2 separate regions of the Homo sapiens genome follow, and region 1 is linked to region 2. Evidence: promoter capture Hi-C in human tissues and cell types (Jung and others, 2019). All regions are on one chromosome and are shown on one strand. The core of a region is centred on a gene start or on the middle of the fragment in contact, and the rest is flanking DNA. Distances in the headings are between cores, read along the strand shown.

Region 1 (4,263 bases), core at 672-3,171, 760 kb before region 2:
TGGTATTCTCTATTTTTAGTGTTCAATGATCATACCTGTTGTACTATTTGCATACCCCTTAACACACTATGTTCTTACAAACCTTTATATGTGCCTGGAAAGTCTATACATTCCCCACCCAATTCTTGGTCATCTGTTTAAACACAAGTACCTTTCTTCTCTGTATATGTTTCTACTTCATACATACTTTTGATACTACTATGCATTGTAATTTGTTTACCTTTCTATTTCCCCATCTCAACAATGAATTTTCTAGGTCAGAATCATTTAAAGTATTTTAAAATCACTGCCTGGGATACAATAGGTACTCAATAAACACAAGTAAGAATGAATGAACTTTCTTTTTATTTACCACTCATAGGATCTCTTAATTATAACAAAAATAATAGCAATAGCTGATATTTATTAAGTATTATATGCAAGGTCTGACAGTAAAGACCTTCTGATTATCTGTTAGTTCACTGACTCTCCAGACCAACCCTGTGAGACAGGTACTATATTATCTCCACTTTATAAATAAGAAAACAGGCACTGAGAGGTTAAGCAATTTGCACATGATCACACAGCTAATAAAGTGTTTCTCAAAATGTTTTCAAAGATTGTTTATGGTACTATTGGAAAGTAACATTTTAAGTAAAAAGGTCAATCTATAAAACTACACATACAGTATGATTCTATTTATGCAAATAAAATGAATAAAACTTCTAAGAAAAAAACAAAATGTTATTTTGTGGAACTGAGTGCTTTCCACTTTATAGATTAATAATTTCCAAGTTTTCCTCACTAAACATTTCTAAACCCACGACGAAAGTAATGATTACCTATGCCTGATTATTAAATACGTATAAACGGAATCATACAATAAGTACTCTTTTGTGTCCAACTTCATTTGCTCAACACTATATTTGTGAGATTCATCTGTGTTGTTGCATGCAGTCTTCAGTTCACTCTAATTTCTTTACATAGCATTCCACCATATGGCACACAATTTATTTTCCCATTCTACCATGAATGTACGCTAGATTGTTTCCACTTGGGAGTTGTAACAGTGCTACTATAAGCACGTTACTACTATAATTTAAAAAGCTTTTTTTTTCTGAGACGGAGTCTCACTCTGTTGCCCAGGCTAGAGTGAAGTGGCACGATCTCGGCTCACTGGAAGCTCCACCTCCTGGGTTCACGCCATTGTCCCGCCTCAGCCTCCCAAGGAGCTGGGACTACAGGCTCCCGCCACCACGCCCAGCTAATTTTTTTGTATTTTTAGTAGAGACGGGGTTTCACCATGTTAACCAGGATGGTCTCGATCTCCTGACTTCGTGATCTGCCCGCCTCGGCCTCCCAAAGTGCTGGGATTACAGGCATGAGCCACCGTGCCCAGCCTTAAAAAGCTTTTAAAATATTCTGAGGCAAGGATTTACAAGGCCTCTGACTGTATCTCATATAAGTGGAATCATACAATATTTGTCTTTTCGTGATTGGCAAATTTATTTCCCTTACCCTAATGTTCTCAAAGTTCATCTATATTGTACCATATGCCAGAATTTCCTTCCTTTTTTAAGGCTGAATATTATTGTATTGTATGCATAGTTATGCATCACTCAAGAACAGGAATATATTCTAAGAAATGCGTCTTTAGGTGATTTCTTCACTGTGCAAAAATAATAGTGTACATACACAAACCTAGATGGTATAGTCTAATACCTGGATTATATAGTATAACCTATTGTTTCTAGGCAGCAAATCTTTACAGCATGTTCCTGTACTGAATACTGTAGACAAATGTAATTCAATGGTAAGTATTTATATAACTAAACAGAGAAAAGATACATTAAAAATAATTATAGTCAAATCATAGAGAAAGAAGATTGGTGGTTGGCAGGGGATGGGGAGTTGTTTAATGAGTATGAAATTTTGGTTTTACAAGATGAAAAGAATTATGGAGATAGATGATAGTGATGTTTGCACAACATTATGAATATATCCAATAATACTGAATTGTACACAAACATGGTTAAGATGGTAAAATTTTATGTTCTCTGTATTTTATCACAAAAAAATAACAACAGGTTGGGGGTAATGGTGCATGTGGCTGGAAAGCAAGTTGTTAAATTAAAACCTGTATCTGGCCGGGGGCGGTGGCTCATGCCTGTAATCCCAGCACTTTGGGAGGCTGAGGCAGGCGGATCACAAGGTCAGGAGATCAAGACCATCCTGGCTAACACAGTGAAACCCCGTCTCCACTAAAATTACAAAAAATTAGCCGGCCGTGGTAGCGGGCGCCTGTAGTCCCAGCTACTTAGGGGGCTGACGCAGGAGAATGGCGTGAACCCGGGAGGCGGAGCTTGCAGTGAGCAGAGATCGTGCCACTGCACTCTGGCCTGGGTGCAAGAGCGAGACTCGGTATCAAAAAACAAAACAAAACAAAACAAAACAAAACAAAACAAAACAAAACAAAACAAAACAAAACCTGTATCTGGAGCAGTAGTAGAGCTTCAGATTCTTCCCCAGTTCCATTCCCCTAAAGGTAGGATATTTATTCTCTGGCAAATAAATCTTTCCTAGGTAACACTCTTGTGTCCCTACCACCCCCCATCTCCCACACACGACATGCAATAATCTCCGCAGGAGTTTAGGCATGGGGTCAGTATAAGGAATAAAAGAAAATTTATATACTCAGTATTGAGACCCACAGACTCTTTTGTGGTCATGTTTCTACAATGCTGTCAGGAGACTAAGGGATTCTACTCTTGGATCACCAAACACCCGTGATAAGATTTCTGAATGTCATCTGAAATGTTTCCACTTTAAAGGTTAGCCTTCCACTAGACCATTCTATCCTACAACAAAGGCTGCTAGTCACCAGGAGTTTCTCATCAGAATTTTTAATGCTTCCCTCTAACTGACAAACATCAAGGACTACCATGTAATCAAGGAAGGCCTCCAATATGAAAGAAGGACCAAAGTAAACAACAATAAAAACAAAACTTTAAGATGTTGCAGGGAGAGGAAAATTTGGGGGAAAGGGGCTTATTTCTATCCTCACAGGGATCAAATAACATTCATTCATTGGGAGAAAATTTTTGCAATCTACCCATCTGACAAAGAGCTAATATCCAGAATCTACAAAGAACTTAAATTCGTAAGAAAAAATCAAACAACCCTATAAAAAAGTGGGCGAAGGATATGAACAGACACTTCTCAAAAGAAGACATTTATGCAGCCAACAGACACATGAAAAAATGCTCATCATCACTGGTCATCAGAGAAATGCAAATCAAAACCACAACGAGACACCATCTCACACCAGTTAGAATGGCAATCATTAAAAAGTCAGGAAACAACAGGTGCTGGAGAGGATGTGGAGAATTAGGAACACTTTTACATTGTTGGTGGGACTGTAAACTAGTTTAACCATCCTGGAAGACAGTGTGGCGATTCCTCAAGGATCTAGAACTAGAAATACCATTTGACCCAGCCATCCCATTACTGGGTATATACCCAAAGGATTATAAATCATGCTACTATAAAGACACATGCACAAGTATGTTTACTGTGGCACTACTCACAATAGCAAAGACTTGGAATCAACCCAAATGCCCATCAATGATAGACTGGATAAAGCAAACGTGGCACATATACACCATGGAATACTATGCAGCCATAAAAAAGGATGAGTTCATGTCCTTTGTAGGGACATAGATGAAGCTGGAAACCATCATTCTCAGCAAACTATCGCCAAGGACAGAAAACCAAACATGGCATGTTCTCACTCATGGGTGGGAACTGAACAGTGAGAACACTTGGACACAGGGCAGGGAACATCACACACTGGGGCCTGTTTTAGGGTAGGGGGAGGGGGAAGGATGGCATTAAGAGAAATATCTATTGCAAATGACGAGTTAATGGGTGCAGCACACCAACATGGCACATGTATACATATGTAACAAATCTGCATGTTGTGCACGTGTACCCTAGAACTTAAAGTATAAAAAAAATTCATTCATAAAATAAGAACAGGATGTGTGAGAATACAAAGACAGCATTATAAAGAGCTTATGGAAATTCAAAATGCCATATACTTGTTAAAATGAGATATACTGAAATAAATTCAACATAAGGACTGGGAGTAAGTTGCAGAAACCTCCTGGAAAGCAGAACCAAAAGAAATAGCAAATGTAACATGAAAATAATTATCTAGAGAGTTATAATTTGACTGTGGTTACAGAAAAATATAGAGAAAATTACCAAATAAACTTTTCTAGA
Region 2 (4,216 bases), core at 1,254-3,753:
CAACTCCATTGTCTCTAAAATTATGCCCTCAATCACCCAGTGTCAAAACCTACTATGGCACCAAATAAATCGTGTGTGGTTAAAGAGACAAAATGTTCTTTTTTCTACAGGCTGTTATGGGAAGCAGAAAAAGGCTGACTATGAATCAGTTATATCTTAGATCAAGGATGGATATAAATTATAATAATTTGGGCATTCTGGTGGTTAAACCAAGAAAGCAGGAAAACCATTGCTTCCAAGTTCCAGCAACACTTCAAACCAAAAGGCTTGGTGCCAAAAAGTTAAGTTTGGGGCACCACATGTGCAAGACAGGGTCATAAAAACTCACCTTAAATTTATTTGTGGACTTTTCCTGCTTCCACTAAAATCGATGACACTATTTCCCATCTCTTATTGTCAAATCACAACAGTCCGGAAGCCTGAACCAAGTTCACTTGGCAGGTAACAGGAACAACCCTAGGAGGAAGTCCTGAAGGATATCAGATACCATACTTCCTTTACTGCCACATACTTTTCATTTCAGAACCACCAGGATATATTTATGATGCTTTTTGACTAACACTCACCAAGCATTCTGGCTGACACAAACTGCAGAAACTGGCATACTCTAGGGAAGGTCCCTTGTGAGGTCTTTAAGTAGCTTAGATGAGTAAAACACTCAGACTACTTCTATAATGAAGTAGTCTCAGCCGCTCATAAACTCCTTCATTCCCAGCAATCAAGAAGCAGCTGTTAAAATCCTGGAATCTTCCTAGTAGCAGATCTGAAATACCTCCAGGCTGACCCAGGAAGCTTCACAACTGCTTTCCTCTCCTTCCCCTCCCCTGCCTCAGGAGTGCCAGCCTGGCAGGAATAAAGATGACCAAGGAAGGAAAAAAGAGGGTAGCGGATCTGGTGAAAGCAGAGACGCAGACTCCCTTCATTTCCACTACAGAGAAATACCAGCCCTCTGTGCCAACTAACCAGGTTTCTCCTTTCCTCTCCCACCCCCACCCCTCCAAACACGCATTAACTTCTGCAGTCTGGTGTGTCTGGCATTTCCAGAGCGAGCGATCTCAGCAATCTTGAGCCCTTTCCTCAAAGATTCTGAACCAGGAACTTCCTTTCCGCGCCAGCCAGAGTTTGCGGTCCAACCCACGTTAAGACTCAGCTTCCATTTACCTTGTAACCTGTACGGACGACGCTGCTTCTGGGGTCAAGTTCAAGATGAAAGTTCCCTCCTCACCTCCCAAGTTAACTCCAGCAGGGAACAACGCCACTGAGAACGGTCCCAACACTGGAGGCACGCGGATCTGGAGCTGGCAGGAGGGGGCTGGGAGAAGGCCGTTGCCGAGCCTGGCGTCCTCCGCCCCTTGGCCGCAGCGCCGCGTTTCTACCTGGCCAACGCCACATTTCCTCCCGGAGCTTTACACAATAAGTCCAGTAAGTTTTGAGAACACCGGTCCAGGGACCTTTCTGTCTGCAAACACACCACACAATGCCTAGAGCTTCCTTCCCAGCCAGGCGTTCCGGAAAGCCGCCGCGCCAAAGCCGGGAGCCCCGCACACCCACAGCGCTGCGCGCCCGCACCCCAAAGTCCTCCAGGAAGCCAGTGCCCTGATATCGTCCCCCGAAAATGACCACTCTGCATCCAAGAACAAGGGGGCTCACAATCTTGACAATTACCGCTCTTCTCAGCGCCCCACCCCTAAAGAAAAACCCCCAACGTCTAATCCTAACTCACCCCCACCCCCAATAAAGGAGTGTGGATATGCTAATCGCAGTGTTCTTGGAAGCAAAGCAATAGACTTTCAGCCCAGACTGGGGCAATACCATGCCTCCGGCTTAAGTTCTCTCGGCAACTTCGCGACCCGCGCACCCCAACACTCCGGGGGGCGCCCAGGACCCCGCGGTGCCAGGCGCGCCTCCCCCCGCCTCCCCCGCGCCAGGTACCAGGCGTAGCCCAGGCCCTTGCCAAGCCCGAGGGCTACAGAGAAGGCGGGAAAGGGGGCGAGCGGGCGCGCCGGGCGGGGGTGGTCCCAGAACTCGAGCGTGCCCCAAGCGTTCCCGGTTCCCACCACACCGGTTCCAGGGGAGGCCGGCTCGGTCCGGCGCGGGGGAACCGCGCAAGGAAGGTGCGGACTCCCCAAAGCCGCCGAGAGACCAAGGCCCGGGGCGCCCAACATGTCTGTGCCTATTCCCGGAAAGCTCCCGGGTGTGCCCGGCGGAGGAGGGGGCGCTCCAGAAACTTTCCCACACGCCTTTCCCTTCTCCCATCACCCTCTCCACCCCGGGTCCCTCTCGACCTCTCCGCACACTGGCAGCTGGCCATGCCCGGGGCGCTCGCAGGCCCGCGGCGGAGTCCGGGCTGCGGGAGTTACCTGCCGGGAAAGTTTCCAGCTCCTCAGCGCGGTTCCCCACACCCAGGGCCGGGCCTCGGGGCGAGGCCAGCTCGGCGCTCCGCGGCTGCCTCTCCTCCGGCTCCCGAGGCGGCCGCCGCTCCAGCAGCTGCCACAGCAAAGCCTCCGCTCCGGCCCGTCCCCCCGCCTTGCTCGGCCCACACCGGGGCCTCATTGGCAGCGCGAATCCCCGCCCTTGCGCGTGTTCCCGAAGGCACCTTCCTCTCGCGCGCCCGCCCCGGCCGCGCCTCCCGCGCCCCTCCCCGCCCCGGGCTGCGGCGGATCCAGGGACCGGCTGGAGCGCGGAGCGCGAACTTTCCGCGGGGCTTGGGCGCGAGGTCCCCTTGTCCCGCCTCTCGGCGCCAGGTCCGGGCCTGAAGCACCCTACCATCCCTCTGGGCACCGGGTCCCCCGGGGCTGCGCCTAGGCCCCTCTGGGACCAAAATGAGATGGGCCATAGTCTTTTTTACAGCCTCTTCAAAATCAATAAAGCGACCCGGCCTTCCCTCCTCGCTGCTTTTTTACCACAGCCGAGGAGGACATATGGGAGCAATTAACCGAGCTGGAGTTTCCGTGGACGCTTTGGGGTGGCTTGTGCGGCTTTCTTGGATTTTCTCTGCCTCACTTAACTACACACAAACACAAACACACTTTCTGGGGCCAGAATCAGCTAAATGAGCTGGAAGGTCTAAGAAGGCATCTCACCGGCTGCGTCTTTTTATTTCCCAAAAGGAATGGGGGACGTTCTGGGGCCGGTGATTTCCCGGGCGTCCCTGGGGCCGCGGGTCTGGAGCCTCCTGCGACCGCTCCGGGCTGGCCCGTGCTGTCTGCGCTACATTCACAGAGGGCCAGCGTCGTGCTTCTGTCGGAAGGAGGTGGGAGGGACGGAGGGGAGAGAACACACAAAGATGCTATTATTTTGTCGGTTGGTGGCAGTAAATTAAACTCCTGAGTTCCCAAAATGTTTTGTTATTCTCCAGCAGAGCAAAAACCAGGATAGGGACTAGGGATTCGGGTGTCCTGGGTTCTCCAAGATCCTCCCAGGAATCCCAGGCAGCCAAATTGGCCTAAGGGACTCTGCTCACTTAATACCCGAAGCTCTCTAAGACAGCCTTCGTTGATCTAGTTGACGAAGGAAGGATCAACTAGAACTGCCGCTGCCTTGTGTGGCCAGCGGGAATTGTGCACGGGTCACCCCATTGGTGTGTCTGGAGCAGAGAATAGAGAAGTTGCTGTAAACCGATTTATTGGTAACCCCTAACCTTGCTGTGGCAAACCCGCCTTAAAATACGATTGTGTTTTAAACAAGTTTCCTCATAAAAACTTCAACCTCACGCAGAGCTTCCCTATATAAAGACACCAGCAGGAGGGGTGTCCATATTTAAAGTTCTTATGAAAAGGGACAGGAAGCAAAATGCCACACAATCTCTTTTCATAAATTAAAAAGACTGAAATGGACTGGATTTTTCACCCATAGTTTCAAAGGCCTGATTACTGCTGTGTTGATATTTGAGCAGTAAACACATCAGCGGCCTTGAAGTATTCCCGAAACAAGGCAGGATAGAATATTGAAAATAAAAATACAAACTTAAACCAGAAAACTATTGACTTCTTTCTCCATCTGAAATGTTTCATTGCTGAAAAATATGGTAATGTTTTATTTAATTTATCTTGAAACGAAATCTTTCAACAGACAAAAAAGCCAGACAGCAACCTTAATGATAAAAGAATGATGCAAACAAAAGACAAAAACTCCAAGCAGTCTAACTAATCTGAAATATTAAAATATAAGAGAAACAATCCTAAGAAAATAGACTGGTAAGATTTCCTGCTCCAGA

What was found. The method cuts DNA at HindIII sites, captures the fragments that hold promoters and counts their contacts. A contact is called where the count stands out against the background at its distance.
Region 1: a contact is called between a fragment that was not itself captured here and the fragment with the promoter of TANC1 in region 2, in 1 of the 25 tissues and cell types used here (dorsolateral prefrontal cortex).

What each region holds. Positions count from the first base shown.
Region 1 is chr2:159,724,423-159,728,685 of GRCh38, reverse strand. The region is part of intron 3 of MARCHF7 (membrane associated ring-CH-type finger 7); the gene reads right to left. Among named protein-coding and RNA genes, the nearest start is that of MARCHF7, 14 kb to the right of the region's middle. The HindIII fragment of the contact is 4,142 bases long and covers 1-3,992 here.
Region 2 is chr2:158,966,927-158,971,142 of GRCh38, reverse strand. It overlaps TANC1 (tetratricopeptide repeat, ankyrin repeat and coiled-coil containing 1), which reads right to left and starts at 2,503. Exons shown (of 27, transcript NM_033394.3): 1 at 2,361-2,503. RefSeq lists silencers at 2,468-2,547, 2,608-2,717. The HindIII fragment of the contact is 16,038 bases long and covers 1-4,216 here.